Linked DNA regions of Homo sapiens: all the other regions are linked to region 5. The links are contacts of gene promoters, found by promoter capture Hi-C in human tissues and cell types (Jung and others, 2019). All regions are on one chromosome and are shown on one strand. The core of a region is centred on a gene start or on the middle of the fragment in contact, and the rest is flanking DNA. Distances in the headings are between cores, read along the strand shown.

Region 1 (4,653 bases), core at 532-3,031, 280 kb after region 5:
GTATCATGAGCAAAGTTGGAGACCGTTTTGAGACCATGATTCTAATAATGTAAAAGGAACAGGTCTTAGCACTTATTTAGTACTTAGGAAATATTTAATGAAGAAATAAATTTCCCATCCCTCCCACCTAAGTAAACAAGATTCTTGCCAGCTTTCACAGCTAAGAAAGGAGGAAAATAGTGAAAATAGATTTTTAAACACTATATGTGGTGATTATTAAACAGTATGTTATGCTTTTTAGAGCACTTCACAGTAAAATATCCTATATTATTTTAATAACAAACCTGGTTTATTATGTTAAAATTTCACATAAAATTATTATCTTTAAAAACATGAATTAAAGGTGGTATCAGTGCATTGTTTAAGTATTGGGTAAAAGCATTGTTGAAGAGCAGAGACAGCATGCTGTGTTGTTATTAAATAAGGCTTTATTTTTTAATTAGTAACTGGTAACAGGGAATGTTACATTTACTGATTAGAAAGAAAGATAGGAAAAAAGCTTTGGTCTCAAGATAGTATTTTATTGAGTCTGCTTCCCAAACCTAGTTTATTTCTTTTGGTTTGCTCTTTTGTTTTTATTCATCTTCCCTCTTCTGGCTTTTTCTTGCCCCTTTGCCTTTGGCAGTAACAGAAAGGTACCTTCCTGCTCTTCTGTGTTCTGCCTGGAGGGATAGTAGTCCCTTTGGGACCTACTGGGGAAATGTTGAAAGGGAAGTGAGTATATTGCTAGCTAATAAACTTCCCTGGACTTTAGCTCCTTTTTTGAGTTCATATCTTGGCCTTTAAGCCTTTTCAAATCATGTGTTAACCAGCTCTATTACTTTATATACCTTCCTTCCTTAGTTGACTGGATTAAGGTTATTTAAGAATAGCCAACTGTGAACATGTGTCAGATTTATAATTAAATCATTTTCTCATGTGTTGTTTTCACTTCTCCTGATGGTTTTAGGATAAAGATAAAATGATTCCCAAAGTGGATATTCTCGTATGGTGAGAGAATTCTAAGAACTAATTTATGATTCTAAATAAATCTCACCCTTTTTCAGTAAATCTGCTTCTCCAAACTGAAGTAGTTTACACACAGTTTTAAGGCTATAAATGATAGTTATATACCACTGTTACTAATACATTTGTATATAGTCTAAAGTTTGAAACAAAGCTCTGTGAGCTAAGGGGCTGTGTCTTGTTGTTTTACTGCTATTTCCCAATGCCTAGAATGGTATTTGACCTGTAGGTACACAGTAACTCTTTGGATGGATGAATGGGTGGGTGGATGAATGGATGTCTAACTAACTTAAAGCCCAAGTTATGGGTTATGGTGTTGGATGTCCAGAATTCCCAGAATAAGATGCCATCTATTTGTGGATTAAATAATTCTAACATGGTTTTAAAAATATTTTTAAAATAATTATTCTGCCTAGGCTAGTCCAATCAAGAGTCTTTTAATTTTGAAAGAAATCTTTGGTCTAGAAAGAGCTCTGAGAGATGAAACCAATATGTGCCTGGAGTTTTGGGGGTTTTTTAGGTGGCTTTTTTTTTTTTTTTTTTTAAGATATTTTGATAAATGGTCAACTGTAATATGTGAAAAGTTTTAAGCAGGCCTACAGTTTTGTTCTGTAATTTTCTCTGCAGTTTCTTCACTTTAATAATATTAATGCTTCTTACTAGTTGAGCTGATAACCTTCTTCTCCCAAATGTTGCAGAGCTTTTAACCTCCTCTGATTAGAACCATTTCAGGAAGTAGCCTGCAAACATTGAAAAATATGTGAAATGTTAAGAGTAATCTTTTTTAGAGAGAGAGGTCTTTAATTCAGAATTTCTAAAGTGAATTTTTATATTTATCCATATAATTTTTATTTCTTTATTCAGTAGGATCATAATTAAATGCCAGGTGTTGGAAAAAGAACTTAAAGTCAATTGAAGGATACACAGAGAAGAATTTTACATACCAAGAAAAAATTATGTAGACACAAATGTTTTTAGTGTGTGATCTACTTGTAATGAATATTTTATATTACATTTCTCAAAAGCTAGGAATTAACCAAAATGTAAATATTTAATATCCTCAAATTCACTTGGAGAGAGTTTTTCTGTGATTCATAGCCAGAAATAGTAGACATGATTGGGTCTCAACATTTCTTGCTGTTTTAGTGCTTGGCTTAAAAATGTAATAAAAATTAAAACCCAGAATTAAAATTCATTCCTCAAAATTCAGTTGATTTCTAATTTTTTGTTGATTCCATTTGTGTTACATTTTATGGTGTAATTTTATGTACAAGCCAACATTGTTTTTGTTGCTGTATGTAGTCGGTGCTGTGACTTGTTTGTGCTCATCTCTGTTCTGTAGGCAACTTGCCACTCCCTACTGAATAAAGCTACAGTAAAAGAAAAAAAGGAAAACAAAAAATCAGTAAGTTTGGAGAACTTTTTATTAGCTGTTTCTTTCAAAGCAAAACAAAAATCTTTTGCTGTTTGTTAAGAATATCTTCACTTCAGCCTATTTGACCTTCACTGTAAAATCATTCTACTAATTCTGGCACAAAATAGCTTTCATTTCAATTAACCCTGGAATTAAGTTACATTGAAACATTCTCTGTGTTCCTTTGGTTTGATTTATCCCAAAGGCAATTTGTGGGCATTTGTTGCATTGGATATCCTTGGTCTAATTTTATTATTGTTACTTTTTAAATTATAAATGAATGCAAAGAAACTTAATTTCAAGGCCTTAGGAAACGCTGACTGTCTTCATTCTTGCTTCTTGTTTGAAGGTAATGTGAGTGGTTTCTTTTCCCAGAGATGACAGTGTTTCTTAATTGTTAGAAGTATATGGTGGGAAAGAGTCACTTTCTAAATCTTACCTAAAAGTTGCTAAATTTTATTTTTTTACTCTTCATATTTTTATCTAGGCAGTCTCAGGCATAATTTAGATATTTGTGCATAGATTATAGAAATTTTAATGGTAAAACTACTTTTACCTCAAAAAAATAAGAGGTAAATGATAAGATAGTACTTTTGAGATAAAAGAAAACTGAGTTCATATTTGTAGAAAAACACATCATTCTGCAAACATAATGTGAATATACTATCTGCTTCTATGAACTTGCCTTGATTTATTTAAAAGGAAGAAAATTATGAGAGTCGTAATTATTTTCTTCCAGTGAATGGAATTTGTCCAAAATATAATATGCATTCATTTTACATTTGCCATTATCTGTCACAGTGACTTATCAGGCTGAGCCCTGTCTTTGTTCATATAATCCAAATGATTGTAGAGTAAGATGTAAAGAAAACTAAGTAGGTAGTTTTCTTAAAAGGGTGTAATTTAGAATACAGTGTTCATCTGGTTTCATCTTTCATGCCTTATCTAAACTTTACATATAATAAAAGCTTTATGGCTGGGCACAGTGGCTCATACCTGTAATCCGGGCACTTTGGGAGACCAAGGTGGGAGTATCTCTTGAGCCCAAGAGTTAAAGACCAGCTTGGGCAACATAGCGAGTCGTCTCTACAAATAATTTTTTTTTTTTTTTAATTAGCCAGGCGTGGTGGTGTACTCCTGTAGTCCCAGCTACTCGGGAGGCTGAGGCAGGAGGATTGCTTGAGCCCAGGTGGTTGAGGCTGCAGTGAGCTGTGATTGTATCACTGTACTCCACCATGAGTGACAGAGTAAGACCCTGTCTCACAAAAAAAAAAAAAAAAAAAGAAAACGAAAAAGCTTTACATATAAGTTTCTAAGCTGTACATATAAATTATCTAAGCTTTAAATATAGATTTTTAAAATTCAAATCAAAATTTAAATTTATAGACATATACTTTTGTTGTGTCCATTGAAGATTTTATTTTTGATTATATTAAGTAAATTTGCCTAGCTATGATCAAATTGATTGGATTATAAAGACGTTTCTAATGCTTCAGCCTTCTAATTCTCAGCATATGTGAGTTTAACATAATGTACACCATCATTGTTGAAATTAATTTGCTGCTTCTAACACTCTTGTTCAGTGTTATACTAATGCCATTTTGTAGTGTATCACATAATTAAAATTCAGGCTTTCTGTGTTTCTCTAGAGCATGTTTTCTAGCCTTTCTAACACTGCTTTATTTATTAAGATTATGTCTAAAATTGTTTCTTGAAATGTTTTTTTTTCTACTAGAGTTATTTTCAAAAAATTTTTTTTTAATTTCTGGGTAACACCAAGTTTTGGAATGTATTTCTCAGCACAGGTAATACGAGCTCCTCATGGAAACAAGGGGAATCTAATTGGTAATTCGAGATATTTTAGAGTACATTCCAAAGTATGAAGACAGTATACTCATAAATTTAAAATGTTGTTTTATGGAGTTGTGTGCTTTAACAAAACCTAATGATATTTAAGAGCAAGCTGACTTTCTTTTTGGGTGTATATGTCATGGATTGGAATATGTAAAATATAGAGAGAAGATCTGGCTTCTAGTATATAGCTGTGTAGTCACATTACAAATAACTGTTTATTATTCTCAAATATATAGTGTATAATGAGGTTTACTTTGAAAGTTAACTGTCTGCCTAACTCAGGGAGAATGCAGTAACTAAGCATATATGGGTAGTAATGCTCTTGCTGAAGTGTAGTTTATGACTACATGCATTCGCGTTATGTAGTCAGCTTTTACCAA
Region 2 (2,500 bases), core at 1-2,500, 260 kb after region 5:
AGTTGAAGTAATGATGGCAAGGAGAGATGACCTCTCATTTTGCCAAGAGATGAAATTTAGGTGAGTTCTCAAAAGAGCAATGTAGGGTCTTGTAAATCTTAATATGTCCAATGAAGTACAGAAAAAGAGTAGATATGCGGTTATTGGTAGAAAGGAGGACATGAAAAGAGAGCAATTTACATGTTTGTTTTTCTCTACATCTCTTCTCAAATTTCCCTAAGCTTTGTGCCTGTGACAATGCTCCCTTTTTCTAAAACTGTGCTATACTTGAGCTAAGAATTTGATTCTATTTCCAATCTGATACCATAACTAAGGGCCATGATGGAGGATAAATATCCATGTTGCTTGTTCCCTTCTGGCTTTTATGTCTGTGATAGCAGTATCTCTTTTATAAAGTCGTCATGTCACTTAGGTTATCTGGCAAATTATTTGCACTATAAGAAATCTTACGTGACTAAAGGTGTGTGTGTGGCTTCAAAAACATTGTTTGCTGTTTCTCTTTTCTCCACCATTCTATAGGAATAAGATGGTAGAATACCTGACAGACTGGGTTATGGGAACATCAAACCAAGCAGCAGATGATGATGTAAAATGTCTTACAAGGTAAAAAAAGAATGACCTTCAAGTATTAGTGGGTTTTACTGTGAGAGTTATAACTACTTAATTACAGCTTTATACTTGTATTTTGTGTGTATTTAAACTTTTGAGATGTCAAACTTTTGTGTTTGAAATATGTAAAGATGCTAATCTTTATTACTGCTTTTTTTTGACTGATAGACTTTCAGTAAAATTAAATGTGAAAGAGTGATATGTTTGGGAAGTTAGTGTTGTCAGTTTATGAAGAATAGTCTACAGTTATTGGGAAATAAGATACATAAAGCCTCAGATTGCATTTGTGTTATGATTAGATAGATAAAGGTATTATTTGAGGAACTCATTGTGTTGAATCTTTTTAAGAAATAATTGATTTCCTGATTCAAGCACCAGAGACAGAAAAAAAAGGAAGTAATCAAGTCTGCTTTAATGATACTTATTGACACATATCAGAAAATGATTAAACACTATGGACTGTATAATAAGCATTCACATATGTTTCTTTGACCAAGCCTAGCTTTATAATACAGTCTTCTCTGTCAGGGATTGGTTCCAAGAACCACTCCCCAAACCCCTGCCCACATCTTACTCCCATGAACACTAAAATCCACAGATGCTCAAGTCCCTGACTTAAGATGTCATAGTATTTGCATATAAACTATACACATCCTCCCATATATTTTTAATTATCTTCAGATTACTTATAATATCTAATACAATATAAATGTTGTATAAATATTTGTTATACCATATTGTTTAGGGAATAACAACAACAAAAAATCTGTACATGTTGAGTACAGATGAAACCCTCCTTTTTTTTCCCCCAAATATTTTCAATCCATGGGTGGTTGAATCCATGGATATAGAACTCACTGATACAGAGGGCCCATTGTACATGCTTCTGATTTAAGGTAGCCATTTTGCCAAGATTACTTTGTAGAAAGTAAGTATTACCTTCTCCCCATTTGAGATGATTTTGTATTCTGGGATCTGCATATTAACTCAAATTATTTGGGTTGTGCTAATAATTTGTTTAATGAAATAGGTAGTTCCTAAGGTTTATATCTGTTAGTAAGAGGTTTATTTGAGGGGAAGTGAAAGAACTTGAAAGATTCATGGTCTCTAAATTTTTTTTTTTTTTTTTTTTTTTTTTCAGAGATTTGGACCAGGCAAGCATGGAAGCAGTAGTTTCACTTCTAGCTGGTCTCCCTCTGCAGCCTGAAGAAGGAGATGGTGTGGAATTGATGGAAGCCAAATCACAGTTATTTCTTAAGTAAATTTCAGTCACCAAAAAACATAAAGCAAAAAGCAAATAAAGCCCCCCACCACACAAAAAAAGCAAAGAAATAATACCCATGACAGGACTAGGATAGGAAAATAACTGTGTTTTGTGATTTTTTTAAAGAAAGTAATATGATCAGTGAAATTTTGCTTATAATAAAACCCAGATTGCTTCATTAAGTCATTTACAAAAGTGACATTGTCTAAGCTGTTTGGACCACTAATTTTATATACTAACATTAAAAGTGACACATTTACCAGGTAATATTGCATCTATTTGATGCTAATGTTATGAAAGGTATACTAGGCTATATCAGGTAAAATCATGTCCAACATAGCACACTTCATAATAAGCCACCCTGGCTGATTATCGCGAGAGAGGAGAGAAACAGTTAACCCAGGGCCATTCACACCATGCACATATGATTGTTTTGGAATGTCTGGTTAGCTTTCTAGTTGATACGGCCTTCACTATGTAAAGGTCAGTCTTTTTATTTCTCAGATACTTCACATTATTTATGAACCTTTTGAATGACTGCAGTGAAGTTGAAGATGAAAGTGCGCAAACAGGTGGCAGGAAACGTGGCATGTCTCGGAGGCTGGCATCACTGAGGCACTGTACGGT
Region 3 (4,837 bases), core at 511-3,010, 500 kb before region 5:
ATTTCAGAAAGAAAGACCCTTCAGTTTTGATGCATTTTGCTGAACACTTGGGTAGTGAGTGGGATCCTATCCAGTTGAGGAATGCTTGCAATGCTCATTGAAGGGATTTGCTTTGGGACTTTGTCATCTTCCAGAAAGGAAACATATTGTATATTTGGCCCAGTGTGATTGATTGCTTTATCTTTGGTAACTTTTACTTGAATGGGATTTGCTGAATTAATGACTATTGAATTTAAAACTAATTATGAGTTGACAAATAAATAAAAGGTAGTGTTTATGTCTGAGCTTATTGTGTTTGAGCTAACACCAGGTTACTCAGTAACCATGACCTGCTCCTCCATTTCCATTTATTCTCAACATTAAATAGTTTTATCTTGTTGTTGCCAGAAATGCACTTGTGCCAGGTATTGTCCCTGCTGTATGAAAAGCTTCTTGGCAATGAATTCTGTAATAGTGCCCTACATTATGGTTTTCTGGTGGAATTGTTTTAACAGTGACAACCCAGGATTTCCAATATATTTTTGTTTTATTGTTATTACCAAAAATTCCACTATGATTGATGTTCAGTGATTTTCTATAGCAACTTTTTTGGTAACTCTTTGGGTTTCTGATTTGTTTTAGCTAAAATTTTGGGGATATGATTTGGGTCTTTGATTAATGTCAGCTGAACTTGGATTTCTAGTTCATGAAGAAATCTCTCCCAATACCCATTTATCCTATTTTTAGCAATAATTCGTTAATGATTCCACTTGATTTTCAGAATATTGTCCTGGTTGATTTTGATTTGACAGCATACATTATGAAATTTGAAAGTAGGTTACCATTTTGAGGCAGTTGGATATAAATTATGTAAATATGTATGATTATGATTTTTATAAATGGCATAACATGAGTGTACTAACTACCTTCTATGCTGGCCATGCTACAGATTTTCTGGAGGTATGACAATAGTATTTTTTTATGCTCAGATTAAAAATCAGCTTTTCACCTCTCCAGTTTTTCCAAGTGATACTCCCAGTTCTAGAGCAATCTACAGCTGTTTATGTGAGGTGCCCAACACCCATTCATCTCAAGTGCTTCAGTCTTTGGTTTATTTCATGCACTGTGCCTTCAAAATGAAATTTTTAAAAGGGACTTTAAATGAAGTTGAATAGTAGTTTTTAAAAGTCAATTTGTAATTTATGTGAAATCTAACTGTAATGAGGTCCTTTCTGTTTTTTATATGTAAACAGATCTACTAATCCTGTATAAAAGTTATTTTACGATGTTTGTCTTTCTTTGTGTTTTGTCTCATAATCTTTTTTCAGATGCAATATGCCGGAAAAAGTTATAGGTCCAGTTTGAAAATTATTTAGTTTTTCTGCCTATGCTAGTGGAAAAATAGTACCAGGATCAGAATACAGGGTATCACCTATGGAATGTTTCTGTATTTATGAATTGACTCAAAAGAAAGCTTTGTTTCTGAAATCGCATTATGTAGTAGCCACAGTTTTCTGTTTGTAGCTCAGCTAGATTGTTATATATGTTCAATCATTTCACAATAACAACACAAAACTGGTCATTGAAAGGTTTTTATGTACGCATTTTAAACTTGTTCGTTAAAAATTTGGTCCTTTTTCCAGGTGAGGCCCAGTTAGAATAATGTGTCCCGGCACTTTTAGGCACAGCAAGGATGAATTCAATATCCCCTTTTCACTTAGCAACAATGTGTTACTTCTACCCTAATAGGAATTGGGAAAGCAAAGTTGTATGAGAAACAGACTCTGCTGATAAAGTACTCATAGTCCAGACCAGAGAAATATAAATGGAAATAGGTTATATTTCAATAGTGATTGGTTCATCTAAAAGTCTCTGCTGTAAAGGAAATAAAGCATAGAGGTTTGAGCATGGACTTTGGAGTTGGACCAATCTGTGACTGATTCTTCGTTCTGCTACTTGCTTCCAATGTGACCTTGTACAAGTTTCTTGACATTCTCTGAGCCTCAGTTTCTCTACTGGTTGAATAATCCTTGATAGGATTGCAGTGGAAAATTAAATGAAATAATGTTAGCAAAGGTCCCAACATAATATTTGACTTGGAATTGAATGCCCATGGTAACCAGCATCATTTTCCTTCATGTGATGTCTTCTTATGCCTTTGAAAGAAAGTTACTTTATCAAATGTATAAATAAAGATCTGTTTATAGGTGATCTTTTTAATTTAGAAGAAATTCTGAGACACAAATAAAAAAAGAAATTTTTTATTATGTGGTTCAATAGATTGTCTAAAGCATGGCAGTAAAGTTTTAATTATGCCAAGATGCTTCATATTTGTTTTTAAATGAAATTAAGTTGTATTTATGCTTCTTTAGTGAAAACAACGTTACTTAACTGCTACAGGAAGTGTGAATAGTGATAACAGTTCTTTTTCTCTCAGTGTTTGAAATATTTTCCTGAATTTTCTTAGTTTTCTCATACCTGAATCAAGAACCCTTTTGGTTTGTTTCATAAACAGTAATCTAGTTATTATGTTCAGCTTTTCAGATTTATAATAGCTGATTGTTCTCAGCAAATTAAACATGATGGTCAACGCTAATACTACTCAATTATGAATAAGTGCCATTGTGTGGGTCTTCATGTCTTAGACTCACTTATAGTTAGAATACCAACTGGTTCTATGCTATTTATTGCAAACCTCAGATAAATACACCATTAATTATTACACACAACTTTAAAGCAATAAAATCAGTAGATAAAGCCCAATTTTACCTTTCTCTCTCTCTATATATATATATGTATGTATATGTACATACATACACACGTGTATATGTATGTACATATACACGTGTATGTATGTACATACGTGTGTGTATGTATATGTATATACATACATACGTGTGTATGTATATGTATACACATACATATGTATGCATGTATATACATATACATACATATATATGTATATATATATATATATATTTTTTTTTTTTTTTTTTTTTTGAGACAGAGTCTCACTCTGTCTCCCAGGCTGGAGTGCAGTGGCACGATCTCGGCTCACTGCAACCTCTGGCTCCCGGGTTCACGCAATTCTCCTGCCTCAGCCTCCCAAGTAGCTGGAATTACAGGCATGCGCCATCACGCCCAGCTAATTTTTGTGTTTTTAGTAGAGACAGGGTTTCGCCATGTTGGCCAGGCTGGTCTGGAACTTCTGACCTCAAGTGATCCTCCCACCTTGGCCTCCCAAAGTGCTGGGATTACAGGCGTGAGCCACTGCGCCCGGCCCAATTTTAACTTTAATATCACAATTTTCACCTACATTAGTAGAATATTAAAAGTAAACATGCTATTTCTTTGGCATTTTAGTTGAGGTCAAATAATCCTCTTCCCTAATTACTGTGTAAACAAATGTAGACAAGGTAAGCACGAATGAGACAGGATGGCCTATATGGAGTAGTAAGGTGTTGAAGTTTAGAGGCCAGCCTAGAAGACTGAGGAAAAAAGGGTGAGAATTACTTGATAAGATTGAAGGTATGGTAATTGGAAGTGGGAGTATACTGAGATGGATATTTCAAATTCAGCAATATGAAGAGGCAGTGATCAAGTCAAAACTGTAGGTGGAAAATCAGCAAGTGGAGAAACTTAAGACGGAACACGGAGGAAATAGAGTGCAGATTAAATAGAAATTGCTATGATAACATGGATTATATTCTGTGATTGCCATTGAGGTGGAGCCAAAGTGAAGGAGTAATGGAGAAAGTCTAGATTGCTAATTTCAAATATTTGAGGTTATTCCAGTATTTATTATTGTTATTTATTATTTATTTATGTACATATGGTTCCTAGCAGAGTTTTTCAAGACTAAACAGGCTTTTGATCTACAGTCAAAAGCATTGATGCTATTGAGAGGGAATGGAACAGAAAGGGACTGGGCAAGTTACAGTAATGACTGACAGGACTGCTATATTTTTAAAAGTAATAATTTTAGATTTATAGAAAAGTTGCAGAGATCATACAGAGTTGACTCCTGGGTTTTGATTTGGAAGATGTGAGTGTTGGGAGGACAAAAGAGGAAGGATTATACACAGTTTTCTATTTAGCAGAACGTGAATGGAACACATTGGAAAGAGGGCCTGGGCATAGGAAATAGGATGTCTAGAATCTAGGCAGCCATGCACAGTTTGGGTACTCCAGGTGTCAAGCCATGTGGCTCTGCTTCTAGGTGACCAAGTTCAATTGAAATCTCTAGTGGAAGGTGTGTCCCTCCTAGAGTTGGAGCAGACCTCACAATTTTTCACAAGTAAAAGAAGAGCAGAAAAACTTTTATACAGGTTTCAGATGTTTATATTATTGAACACTGTAAAATATAATTATTGTTTTCAAATGAATAAAAGATAAACCTGAGACTATCACAAAGATCTATAAAATAATAGCAGAACTTCTGGAAATGAAAGTACAGAAACTAAAATGGATAGTTGGAGTGGCAGATTGGGCACAGAGAAGTAATTAACTAGAAGACAGATCTGTAGAAATTCTTACGTAGCATGGAGACAAAAAGGTAGAAAATACAAAGGAGAGGGTTAAAATGTGGATTTGGCATACAACTAATACCACATGTTTGATAACCACAGTTTTAGAAGAAAGAAAAGAAAGTGCATAGGAAACTAAGAGGCAATGAGAATTTTCCCCAAATTGATAAAGATAGCAACCCATAGATTAAAGAAACTCAATCCAAGCAAGAAAAAGTAACATCCACACTTAGATCAGTGAAATTGCAGATCAACAAAGACAAAGACAAAAGAGATTAGCAATTAGACACTCTCAACAATAGAAGCCAAAGTACATTGAAATTATACTTTAA
Region 4 (5,029 bases), core at 1,403-3,902, 350 kb after region 5:
GCAAGATGTAGGTAATGTCCTGTGTGTTCCATGTCCGTGGGCATGCTTGGCAATCTGTTGGGATAGCAATATAATTTGTTAGTTTGTGAAAGAATAATGGATCCTAGTTTTGGTAATTGTAGTTAAAAGATAGTGTTGAGATGTTACAAGTAAACTACAAGCTTATGCCTAATATTCGCTACCCTGAATTCCTTCTCAACTAAATTTCTTTTCTATTCAGCTATGTATGAAGAAGCATTTTAATTTCTATTAACACTTTTAGATGCTAGAAGTTAGCATTACAAATAAATATTAATCATTTTAAGTGGACTATCATGGCTTTATATAGTTTTCTTCCTTTGAAGCGTGCTAGACTTCTGCTTTGAGTCAGTTAGTTCTGCTTTTACTTTTCTGATTCCTTCTTTAAAAAAAAAAAAAAATTAAGGATCATTCTTACAGAAACTACCCACCCTCTAACCTGTCACCAATCTTTACAGAAGAAATGTGGCCTTGAGCTTCTTGCTTCATGTATGAAATAAATGCAAATTTTTTTGGTGGAAAGAGGGGAAGTTTGGTAGCAACCAAAAGAAACTGAACTTCAAATAGAAATTCAAGGTGTTCTTTTTTTTTCTTGGGTGTTCATCTTGAAGCTTAGAATAAAGCTGGTACTTAGAAATACATTTGTAAGTGTATTTGTGAACGCAATTTTACTGTGGTGGTTGTCTCTTTTCATTTATATTTCCCTGGACTGACTGTGTCTTTCTGAAGGCAAAGGCATACCAGTTTTCTCAACCTAAAAATCTGAAGAAAAAAAAAAAAAAACAGCAAATTTCCTCTGAGTAGACTTAAAAGTTCAACAAAAGTTGCTGGGTTTTCTTTTAAAGCATCATTTATACCTAGCATTTTTTCTGATTTTGACATAATTGTAAAAAAAAATGTGTAATAAAATAGAAATAGAGCATCAGGATCTTGATGATTTGGGATGAAGTGGCAGGTTATAAGCATCTCAACAGATAATTGAAAATGTTGAATTTCCGCTTTGGCCCTGAGCTTGCTGGAAACTAGTACAAAAAGGAGACAAGTTATATTATACATTTTTTAAATCTACCAAATGATTGATTTAAATAGAAATGGCATATCTTAGAATTTAACAGTTCCATGTACTGCTAACCCAGCAGGAAAGATTTATAATCATTATTAAGGTATCTTATAATAATATACCAGTTTGTCTTGAGCTACTTTTGAAAGGAGTATTTTATTGTTAGCATTTATTTGAATGAACTAAAAGCAAAACTATATTGTTCTCCTGAGATTTACTAAATGAAATTGCCTGGTTAAGAACCCTACGTATGCTATAGAAATTCTTCTCAAATGTACTTAGGAGTCCTTTTATTTAAAAAAAAAAAAAAAAGGCAGATTCTTACCTAGCTAGTATAGGTAGGGCCTGAAAGTCTTTGTTTCCAAACCAACTCCTAAGCAACATGGATGCCACTGCTAGTCAGGCTTTTGAACATCAAGGTTTTATAAGAAATGGTTGTTATATGTCATTGGCTGACATTTGTATACTATTAAAATACAGAAATTGAAAATAAGAAATGTGATACGTTGAGTTATGCAAACAAAAGTAGCATGTAATAAACAATGCTAACTGGAGACTATATTTCATATTAATAGTAGGGAGGAAAAACTATTAAATATTCCAGGATTAAGATTACTTTTTAGATTATGACCTTTAGTAGACAATTAAAGGCCCAAGTCACTGGCTTTTGTATAATAGTGTTCAGCTTTAATTTTTAAGTTTAGTGACATAAATCTTTGGATATTTCATGATTCTTCCACAAAAAGAAATACTTGAAATTGGATTAGCAAGTAATTTCCATCTTTTTATACTAGACTGGACTTCTGTATTAGATGCTAGAATGATTTAAAGTAGATTATTCTTTTCACATTAGTTCATTAACAGTGTAGTATACATCATAGTATTGGTACACATTTTAACAGTGCTTACCACGGAACAGATAATAGGCCTGCTGTTGATTGTCTTCAGCCAGATGTACTGCAGTGCCCAAATAAACAAACTGTATGACAAAATGAGACTTTCTCTTGCCCTTACAAATGCCTGAGAATTGAGGACTGTTTTTACTCCAGTTTATGCCTTGGAGGCCAGGTTGTGTTATCAGAAGTTTTCTTATATCTGATCATTTTCAGTAGAATTTATTTTCAGTAGAATTTGTAATGTCCAAGCATTAGTAATGAGAAATTTATTTTTTAACTTTTGAAAAATAACAAAACATTTCCAGTTTACTTGAGGAAACCAAACTTAGATCCTTCGTAATCCTAATTTAAAACTCCATGGCGATGGCAAATTTTTTCATTTCTAACTTAAAATTTATGTAACAGGACAGAAAAAAAAAGTATACATTTTCAGTCACAATTCTAGTTTGTTAGTGAGATTCTTACACACTTTGATAGCATTTCCTCGAACACTAATCTGTCAGACGTTAGAAGTGAAAAGGCATAAGAAAAGCCGTATATATATGACCTACCTTACAAAATGCTTGGTCAAAATCTGATTATAACGTGATTTTGATAAACCACTTCTTTTCTTGTCTTCTTTTTAAAGCAGAATAGACTTGGAGAATATGAGCCTTAAAGTAAATCTGCAGTAAAAAAGGATATGTGCAGCTAGTTTTCCACTTTTAAAACCAAACCACAGATGACACATTTCCTTTCCACTGCAACTAAAGCACATGTCACAGGAGGGAAAAAAAAAAAAACAACGAAAAAGCTCCAACTTCTCTAGTTGGCCACTGGCATGACAGGAGGCTTTGTAGAACCAATCCCCGCCTCCAGAGCAGGGAGGGTTTTCCACTTAATGCCTTTTGACAGTATGCTCATTCTATAGGCCTGCTACATGCTTTAGTGTCATTCAAAAGAGGTTTTGAAATGGTATCTTCCATTTCAAATCTTCTCTAAAAGACTTATTTGAAATCTACAGACTGATTTGAAAATGTGAGTTTGGAGTCCATGGGATACTGATCAGATAATGTAACAATTGTGGAACTGCAGCAATTATTTGAGAAAATATCTAGTAAACTTAGATTATATGGGACAGAAAATGCTTTCGTGTGGTGTAGTGTGTGTATACACACACACACACACACACACACACACACACACAACTGTCAAACATCCTGTCATCACCTCAAGTTTAACATGACTGAAACAGACTTTAAGAACTAGGTATGGGCTGAACACGGTGGCTCACACCTGTAATCCCAGCACGTTGGGAGGGTTGACGCAGGCAGATCACTTGAGGCCAGGAGTTCAAGACCAGCCTGGCCAACATAGAGAAAACCTGTCTCTACTAAAAATATAAAAATTAACCAGGCAGGGTAGCATGCACCTGTAGTCCCACCTACTTGGGAGGCTGAGACAGGAGAATAGCTTGAACCCGGGACGTGGAGGCTGCAGAGATCATGAGATCTTGGCTGCATGAGCTAAGATCATGCCACTGCACTCCAGCCAGGAAGACAGAGTAAGACTCTGTCTCAAAAAAAAAAAAAAAAAAAAAAAAAAAAAAAAAAAGAACTGGATATGGCAGCACATATCTGTAATCCCAGCTACTAGGTAGGTTGAGGTAGGAGGATCACTGGTGGAGCCCAGGAGTTCAAATCCAGCCTGGGTAACATAGCAAGACTCCATCTCTTAAAAATTAATTAAATTAATGAAATAAAAAGAACTTTATTTTTTCTTTAAAGGAGGCTGCCTGTGACAGTCTTCTTGTTTCTGTTCATGATAGCAACATTCTAATATCAGAGGCTTAGTATACAACACATCATTTTAATTTAAGTCCTCTCAGTCCTGATCAGACTTTGAATCATGTTGGTCCTTCCTTCATATTGTTGGATCAGTTTCTTTTTCCCTGTTTTTACTGTCAACAGTACTATTTTAGATCCTTATCAGGTCATACCTAGACTCTACAGTGCCTTTTCGGTAGCCCTGAATCCTTCTTATATCTTGTATACATCACTGTCTTTGGTCATACCACCCTTTCTTTAAGGGAAAATAAAACCGGTTGAACAGTTCCCTAATACATACAACAATGATTCAGAAATGTTTGTGTACATAAACATCAGATGAGAAGATTGTTTAAAAATTATAAAAGCAGGACATGGTGGCTCACACCTGTAATCTCAGCACTTTGGGAGGCTGAGGCGGGAGGATTACTTGAGCCACAGAAATTCGAGACCAGCCTGGGCAGCATGGCAAAATCCTGTCTCTACAAAAAATACAAAAAAACAAAAACAAAAAACTAGCCGGGCATGGTGGCGCTTATCTGTAGTCCCAGCTACTCAGGAGGCTGAGGTGGGAGGATCACCTGAGCCTGGGGAGGTCAAGGCTACAGTGAGCTGTGACCGTGCCACTGCAGTCCAGCCTGAGTTAAGGGAAAAAAAAAAAAGATAAAAATTTCCAGGCCCCACTACATAGATCCATATTTAGTAGGTCCAGGTTGGGACCAGGAAACTGCATTTTTATCAAGCACCACAGTTGATTCTGACGCCAGTAGTCCACAGAACATATGCTGAGAAATGGTGAGCCCCTAGTAGAAAACCTAAGCCCTTTGGTTGGGCAGTTATGGTCTCTCCACAATTTGACTATTCTGTATTTTCCCAGCTTTATCTCTCAAAACTTCTCTACCTGAATCCTCCATTCTGGCTAGACTAGCTGTCTCTTCAACACATCTAGTTACCTGTTTCTTTTCCTTTTTGCCTTTCTCCATAAGGCCTGCCCAGTCCTCTTGCTGAGTCTGCATTCCTCCTTACCTGATTCAGCCACTGTATCTTCTATGTAGCTTTCACTGACTGCCCAGTTTGTGTTAATCTCTCTCTCTCTCTCCTTTGTCTTAATAACAGTATTTTCTCTGCATTTCCTTTGATAAGTGATTACTTTCTACCTCATATCTTCTATCTTGAAATATTTGTGTTGTTTTAAAATCATTTGACTTGTCATATTTTTATCTTATTTTCTCCCAACAAGATTAAAAATT
Region 5 (5,183 bases), core at 2,299-4,798:
TAAATCCAGGGGAAAAAATTTACCAAGAGCCTTTTTGTCACAGGAAGTTAAGAAGAATTAAAAATTTAATACACATACATACTTTTGTTGTAGAGAAGTATTACAAAGTGATAAAAGACTTTCATGCATGAAATATATTGCTTTGGAATGTAATTCTGTGGAGGAAATGGAATGGAAATACAAGTTCAGAAAGATAAAAGAATGACAAAATTTCTTTTTTTTTTTTTTTGAGACGGAGTCTTGCCCTGTTGCCGAGGCTGGAGTGCAATGGTGCCATCTTGGCTCATGGCAACCTTCACCTCCCGGGTTCAAATGATTCTCTTGCCTCAGCCTCCTGAGTAGCTGGGATTACAGGTGCCTGCAACTACGCCCAGCTAATTTTTTTTTGTATTTTTCGAACTCCTGACCTCATGATCCGCCTGCCTCGGCCTCCCAAAGTCCTGGGATTACAGGCATGAGCCACCGCACTCGGCCAAGAATGACAAAATGTCTGATGTAGGCTGAGCGCGGTGGCTCACCTCTGTAATCCTAGCACTTGGGAGGATGAGGTGGGCGGATCACCTGAGGTCAGGAGTTCGAGACAAGCCTGGCCAACATGGAGAAACCCTGTCAACATGGGGAAACCCCATCTCTACTAAAAATACAAAATTAGCCGGGCATGGTGGCGAGCGCCTGTAATCTCAGCTACTCCGGAGGCTGAGGCAGGAGAATGGTTTGAACCCGGGAGGTGGAGGTTGCAGTGAGACGAGATTGTGCCACTCCACTCCACTCCAGCCTGGGCAACAAAGTGAGACTCCATCTCAAAAAAAAAAAAAATCTGATATAAATGAAGAATTTGCTAATATATTTTTACTACCAGAGCTGACCACTCTCCCCCTTCCCCCTTTCTTTCTTTCTTTTTTTTTTTTCTTTTGAGACAGAGTCTTGCTCTGTCGCCCAGGCTGGAGTGCAGTGGTGCGAACTCAGCTCACTGCAAGCTCCGCCTCCTGGGTTCAGGTCATTCTCCTCCCTCAGCCTCCTGAGTAGCTGGGACTACAGGCTCCCGCCGTCACGCCCGGCTAATTTTTTTTGTATTTTTTAGTAGAGACGGGGTTTCACCGTGTTAGCCAGAATGGTCTCAATCTCCTGACCTCATGATCCGCCCGCCTCAGCCTCCCAAAGTGCTGGGATTACAGGCGTGAGCCACTGCGCCCGGCCCCCACTTCCCCCTTTCTTATAACCACTGCATGATTTTGCATAAAACTTTTAGGGCGTGTCCAAGAAAAAAGTTTGAAAACTACTGGTTAACTCACTCTTTCCAGAAACTTGGCTGTGAAATGGAGAAGAGGAGAGCTGGTTCCAGGGAGGCTCAGGTCAAAGGTGATTTTATTTTATTTTTTAATTTTTAATTTTTTTGAGACTAGGTCTAGCTCCTTCCCCAGGCTGGAGTGAAGTGGTGTGATCACAGCTAACCACAGTCTTGACCTCCTGAGATCTCATGGCTCATTACAGCCTCCACCTCCCTGGCTCAAGCAATCCTCCCACCTCAGTCTCCTGAGTAGCTGGGATCACAGGCCTGCGCTACCATGTCTAGGTAGTTTTTGTATTTTTTTTGTAGAGGCAAGGTTTCACCATGTTGCTCAGGCAGGTCTCGAACTCCTGAGTTCAGGCAATCCACCTGCCTCAGCCTCCCAAAGTGCTGAGATTACAGGCATAAGCCACCACGCCCCGCCAGTGATTTCATTTTTTAAGTTGGAAGATCTGAGCATGTTTAAGTGTTTAGTATCATGCCCGTTTTACAGAAAAAAAGAGGCTCTTAGAAACTACGATTTTACTCCGATGCGGAGATTCTAGAACAAGATCCAGGTAATACATCAGTCAGGATAGGCTAGGTTATGCTGTAGCAGCACACACCCACTAAATCTCAGTAAGCTGAATACATCCTAGTTTTCTTCTCCCTCTTACTACGTATCCTAGGGTGCGTTGGCAGGGAGTCTGCTCATCTTAGCCACTCAGTGACCCAGGTCACCGGATGATGGTTTCATCTCCATAATTGGGGCAGCTGGCAGAAAGGGATACAATGGCCGGCTCAGTCGCCTTTAAAGCTGGTGGGAAGTAACATATTACCTCTGTGTGTTTCAAGTGGGTCAGGGAAGTGCCAGTCCTACCATGTGCCCAGAAAGGGAAAGCACTGGAAACGTTGATGAGCAGCGCTGCCTACTCCATGACACTTCCAGTATTAGAAATAACCACAAACGCTTTTTTTTCTTTCTTTTCTTTCTTTTTTTTCTTTTTTTTTTTTTTTTTTTTTTTGAGACGGAGTCTCCCTATGTCGCCCAGGCTGGAGTGCAGTGGCGCAGTCTTGGCTCACTGAAACCTCCGCCTCCCGGGTTCAAGAGATTCTCCTGCCTCAGCCTCCCAAGTAGCTGGGATTACAGGCATGCGCCAGGGCGCCTGGCTTTTCTTTTCTTTTCTTTTTGTATTTTCAGTAGAGATGAGGGTTCACCATGTTGGCCAGGCTGGTCTTGAACTCCTGACTTCAAGTGATCCAAAGGTCGGCTACAAACTTGTATTATCTGATACCTACTTTGAGCCCAGGCCAGAAAGGATAAAGTAAAGCATGAGACGTTGTTAGTTCATTTCAACAGATTGGGGAGTTGTGGGTTTTAGTCTCTGACGCTTCATTGTTACCATGAGAGCCTGCAAGTTTTTCTTTTTTCTCTTTTTTTTTTTTTTAACCTCTTTGGGTCATCTGGGAGGACGTGGTGCTCTTTTAGCTCTAACATTTTCTGGTTGCAATGCGTTTAGGACTGGGATGCGAAGTGAGTGAGTGAGTGAGCCTTCTCAGGAAAACACTTTCTAGAATTTTGTCCGAGTGTCTGTTGGGAAACGCGCTTACATCCCGCAGAAGGCGGTAAGGACACAGCGCACAACTCTGCATTATACCTGCGAGTTAAAAAGCCAAGGGTTCGCTCACTCAACCTTGAATGCGCGTCAGAATCACCTGGGGGAGGTTTTACAAAATACCCGTGCTCCACCCAAGACAATGAAATCAGACTCCCTGCGAGCGGGGCCGAACATCAGCATTTTTGAGGACGCTCCCTGTGGCTGTGCATCGGTGATCTTTAATCCCCTGCTACTTGTTAGAGGAGCTGGATGACACTTCGTGGGCTCATTCTCATAAATAAGCTGCTGAATGGAGTCCTCTCCTCCCAAGAGTTGTCGGTGTTGCATCTTTTTTGTTGTTTATTTTTTTTTAAGCCAACGGACGAAGACATCCAACGGTGCTGCATCTTAATGGAGGGACATCCAGCTAAAGGGAATCTTGGAGACCTCCGCGGGTTTCTAGCAGCTCGCGGCATGTTGGTTTCCCAGGGCAAGAGGCCGCCACTGAAGGTCAGCTCTGTCTTTCCAGCTGGGCACTGGAGGCTCTAAGTCTGTTTTCAGCAGGATCGGAGGAAGGAGACGGGGTGGCGCCAAGGAAGGAGGAGAAAAGGCGGCCGAGAAAAGGAGGAGGGCAAGGGGAAGAGGAAGGGCGAGGGAGGAGCCTGAGGAGACTCGCCCGGCTCAACCCCGACGTCCGCGCCCCGGCCGCCTGTTGGCCATGGCGGGCCTGGGCCTGGGCTCCGCCGTTCCCGTGTGGCTGGCCGAGGACGACCTCGGCTGCATCATCTGCCAGGGGCTGCTGGACTGGCCCGCCACGCTGCCCTGCGGCCACAGCTTCTGCCGCCACTGCCTGGAGGCCCTGTGGGGCGCCCGCGACGCCCGCCGCTGGGCCTGCCCCACTTGCCGCCAGGGCGCCGCGCAGCAGCCGCACCTGCGGAAGAACACGCTACTGCAGGACCTGGCCGACAAGTACCGCCGCGCCGCACGCGAGATACAGGCGGGCTCCGACCCTGCCCACTGCCCCTGCCCGGGCTCCAGTTCCCTCTCCAGCGCGGCCGCGAGGCCCCGGCGCCGCCCGGAACTGCAGCGGGTAGGGAGGCCGGGCCCGCAGCTCCCCTGGCTCCCCCGGGCTGCCCGCCGCCTGACCCTTTCCCATGTGGCTCGAACCCCTTTCCTCAGCCGTTCTACTTTTACGTTCCTTTTCTCAGTCTAAAAGTCGAGTTCCGCTCTTCGGAGGCACTTTGGAAAGTTCATAAAAGTATGAAGAAGTAGAAAAAAACAAATTCCCCATCTTCCGAAAGCTTGTCAACTTAGCTGTTACACAGCTTGGCATATTTCAACTTCTTCCCAATCGATCTTCGGTCTCTTTCTCTGAAACTTGTAAAATTGTGGTAAGATCTATATAACATTAAAACTGGCCATTTTAACCTTTTTCTTTATTTCTTTGAGACGGAGTCTCGCTCTGTCGCCCAGGCTGGATGGAGTGCAATGGCGTGCGTGATCTCGGCTCACTGCAACCTCCGCCCCCCAGGGTCGAGTGATTCTCTTGCTTCAGGCTCGAGAGTAGCTGGGATTACAGGCGTGCGCCATCACGCCCGGCTAATTTTGGTATTTTTAGTAGAGACGGGGTTTCGACATGTTAGCCAGGCTAGTCTCAAACTCTTGACCACAGATGATCCGTCCGCCTCGGCCTCCCAAAGTGCTGGGATTACAGTCATGAGCCACAGCGCCTGGCCTCATTTTAACCTTTTATTTTTTTGAGACGGAGTTTTGCTTTGTGGCCCAGGCTGGAGTGCAGTGGCGCCATCTTGTCTCACTGCAAGCTCCGCCTCCCGGGTTCACGCCATTCTCCTGCCTCAGCCTCCCGAGTAACTGGGACTACAGGCGCCCGCCACCACGCCTGGCTAATTTTTTGTATGTTTTTTTCTTTTTTTAAAAAATAGGGACGGGGTTTCACCGTTGTTAGCCAGGATGGTCTCGATCTTCTGACCTCGTGATCTGCCCGCCTCGGCTTCCTAAAGTGCTGGGATTACAGGTGTGAGCCACCGCGCCCCGCCTATTTTAACCATTTTTAAGTGTACAATTCAGTGACAAATTAGTTACATTTCCTGTTGTGCAACTATCACTTCTGTTTCCAAAACTGTTTCATCATCATAAACAGAAACTTTGTACTCATTAAGCAGTAACTCCTCATTTCTCCTCCCTCTAGCCCCTGCTCACATCTAAGCTACTTTCTGTATCTGAGTTTGCCTGTTCTAGATATTTCATATAACTGGAATCGTTCAATGTTTGTCCCTTTGTGCCTGGTTTCTTTCACT

What was found. The method cuts DNA at HindIII sites, captures the fragments that hold promoters and counts their contacts. A contact is called where the count stands out against the background at its distance.
Region 1: a fragment that was not itself captured here is called in contact with the fragment with the promoter of RNF135 in region 5 in 2 of the 25 tissues and cell types used here (dorsolateral prefrontal cortex and spleen).
Region 2: a fragment that was not itself captured here is called in contact with the fragment with the promoter of RNF135 in region 5 in 1 of the 25 tissues and cell types used here (lymphoblastoid cells).
Region 3: a fragment that was not itself captured here is called in contact with the fragment with the promoter of RNF135 in region 5 in 1 of the 25 tissues and cell types used here (IMR-90 fibroblasts).
Region 4: the fragment with the promoter of EVI2A here is called in contact with the fragment with the promoter of RNF135 in region 5 in 1 of the 25 tissues and cell types used here (bladder).

The regions. Positions count from the first base shown.
Region 1 is chr17:31,250,591-31,255,243 of GRCh38, forward strand. NF1 (neurofibromin 1) reads left to right here. Exons shown (of 58, transcript NM_001042492.3): 31 at 2,348-2,410. Among named protein-coding and RNA genes, the nearest start is that of OMG, 44 kb to the right of the region's middle. The HindIII fragment of the contact is 3,539 bases long and covers 13-3,551 here.
Region 2 is chr17:31,230,323-31,232,822 of GRCh38, forward strand. It overlaps NF1 (neurofibromin 1), which reads left to right. Exons shown (of 58, transcript NM_001042492.3): 23 at 1-60; 24 at 520-603; 25 at 1,751-1,867; 26 at 2,378-2,500. Among named protein-coding and RNA genes, the nearest start is that of OMG, 66 kb to the right of the region's middle. The HindIII fragment of the contact is 4,182 bases long and covers 1-2,500 here.
Region 3 is chr17:30,467,415-30,472,251 of GRCh38, forward strand. It overlaps CPD (carboxypeptidase D), which reads left to right. Exons shown (of 21, transcript NM_001304.5): 21 at 1-2,575. Among named protein-coding and RNA genes, the nearest start is that of GOSR1, 7.6 kb to the right of the region's middle. The HindIII fragment of the contact is 7,123 bases long and covers 1-4,837 here.
Region 4 is chr17:31,318,970-31,323,998 of GRCh38, forward strand. It overlaps EVI2A (ecotropic viral integration site 2A), which reads right to left and starts at 2,653. Exons shown (of 2, transcript NM_014210.4): 1 at 2,526-2,653; 2 at 1-54. The coding sequence starts at 44. All of the region lies in intron 36 of NF1 (neurofibromin 1), which reads left to right. The HindIII fragment of the contact is 10,482 bases long and covers 396-5,029 here.
Region 5 is chr17:30,967,491-30,972,673 of GRCh38, forward strand. RNF135 (ring finger protein 135) reads left to right here and starts at 3,549. Exons shown (of 5, transcript NM_032322.4): 1 at 3,549-3,955. The coding sequence starts at 3,584. RefSeq lists enhancers at 2,685-2,774, 2,835-2,894, 2,963-3,524, 3,175-3,424, 3,525-4,086 and 1 more and a silencer at 3,505-4,044. The HindIII fragment of the contact is 16,210 bases long and covers 1-5,183 here.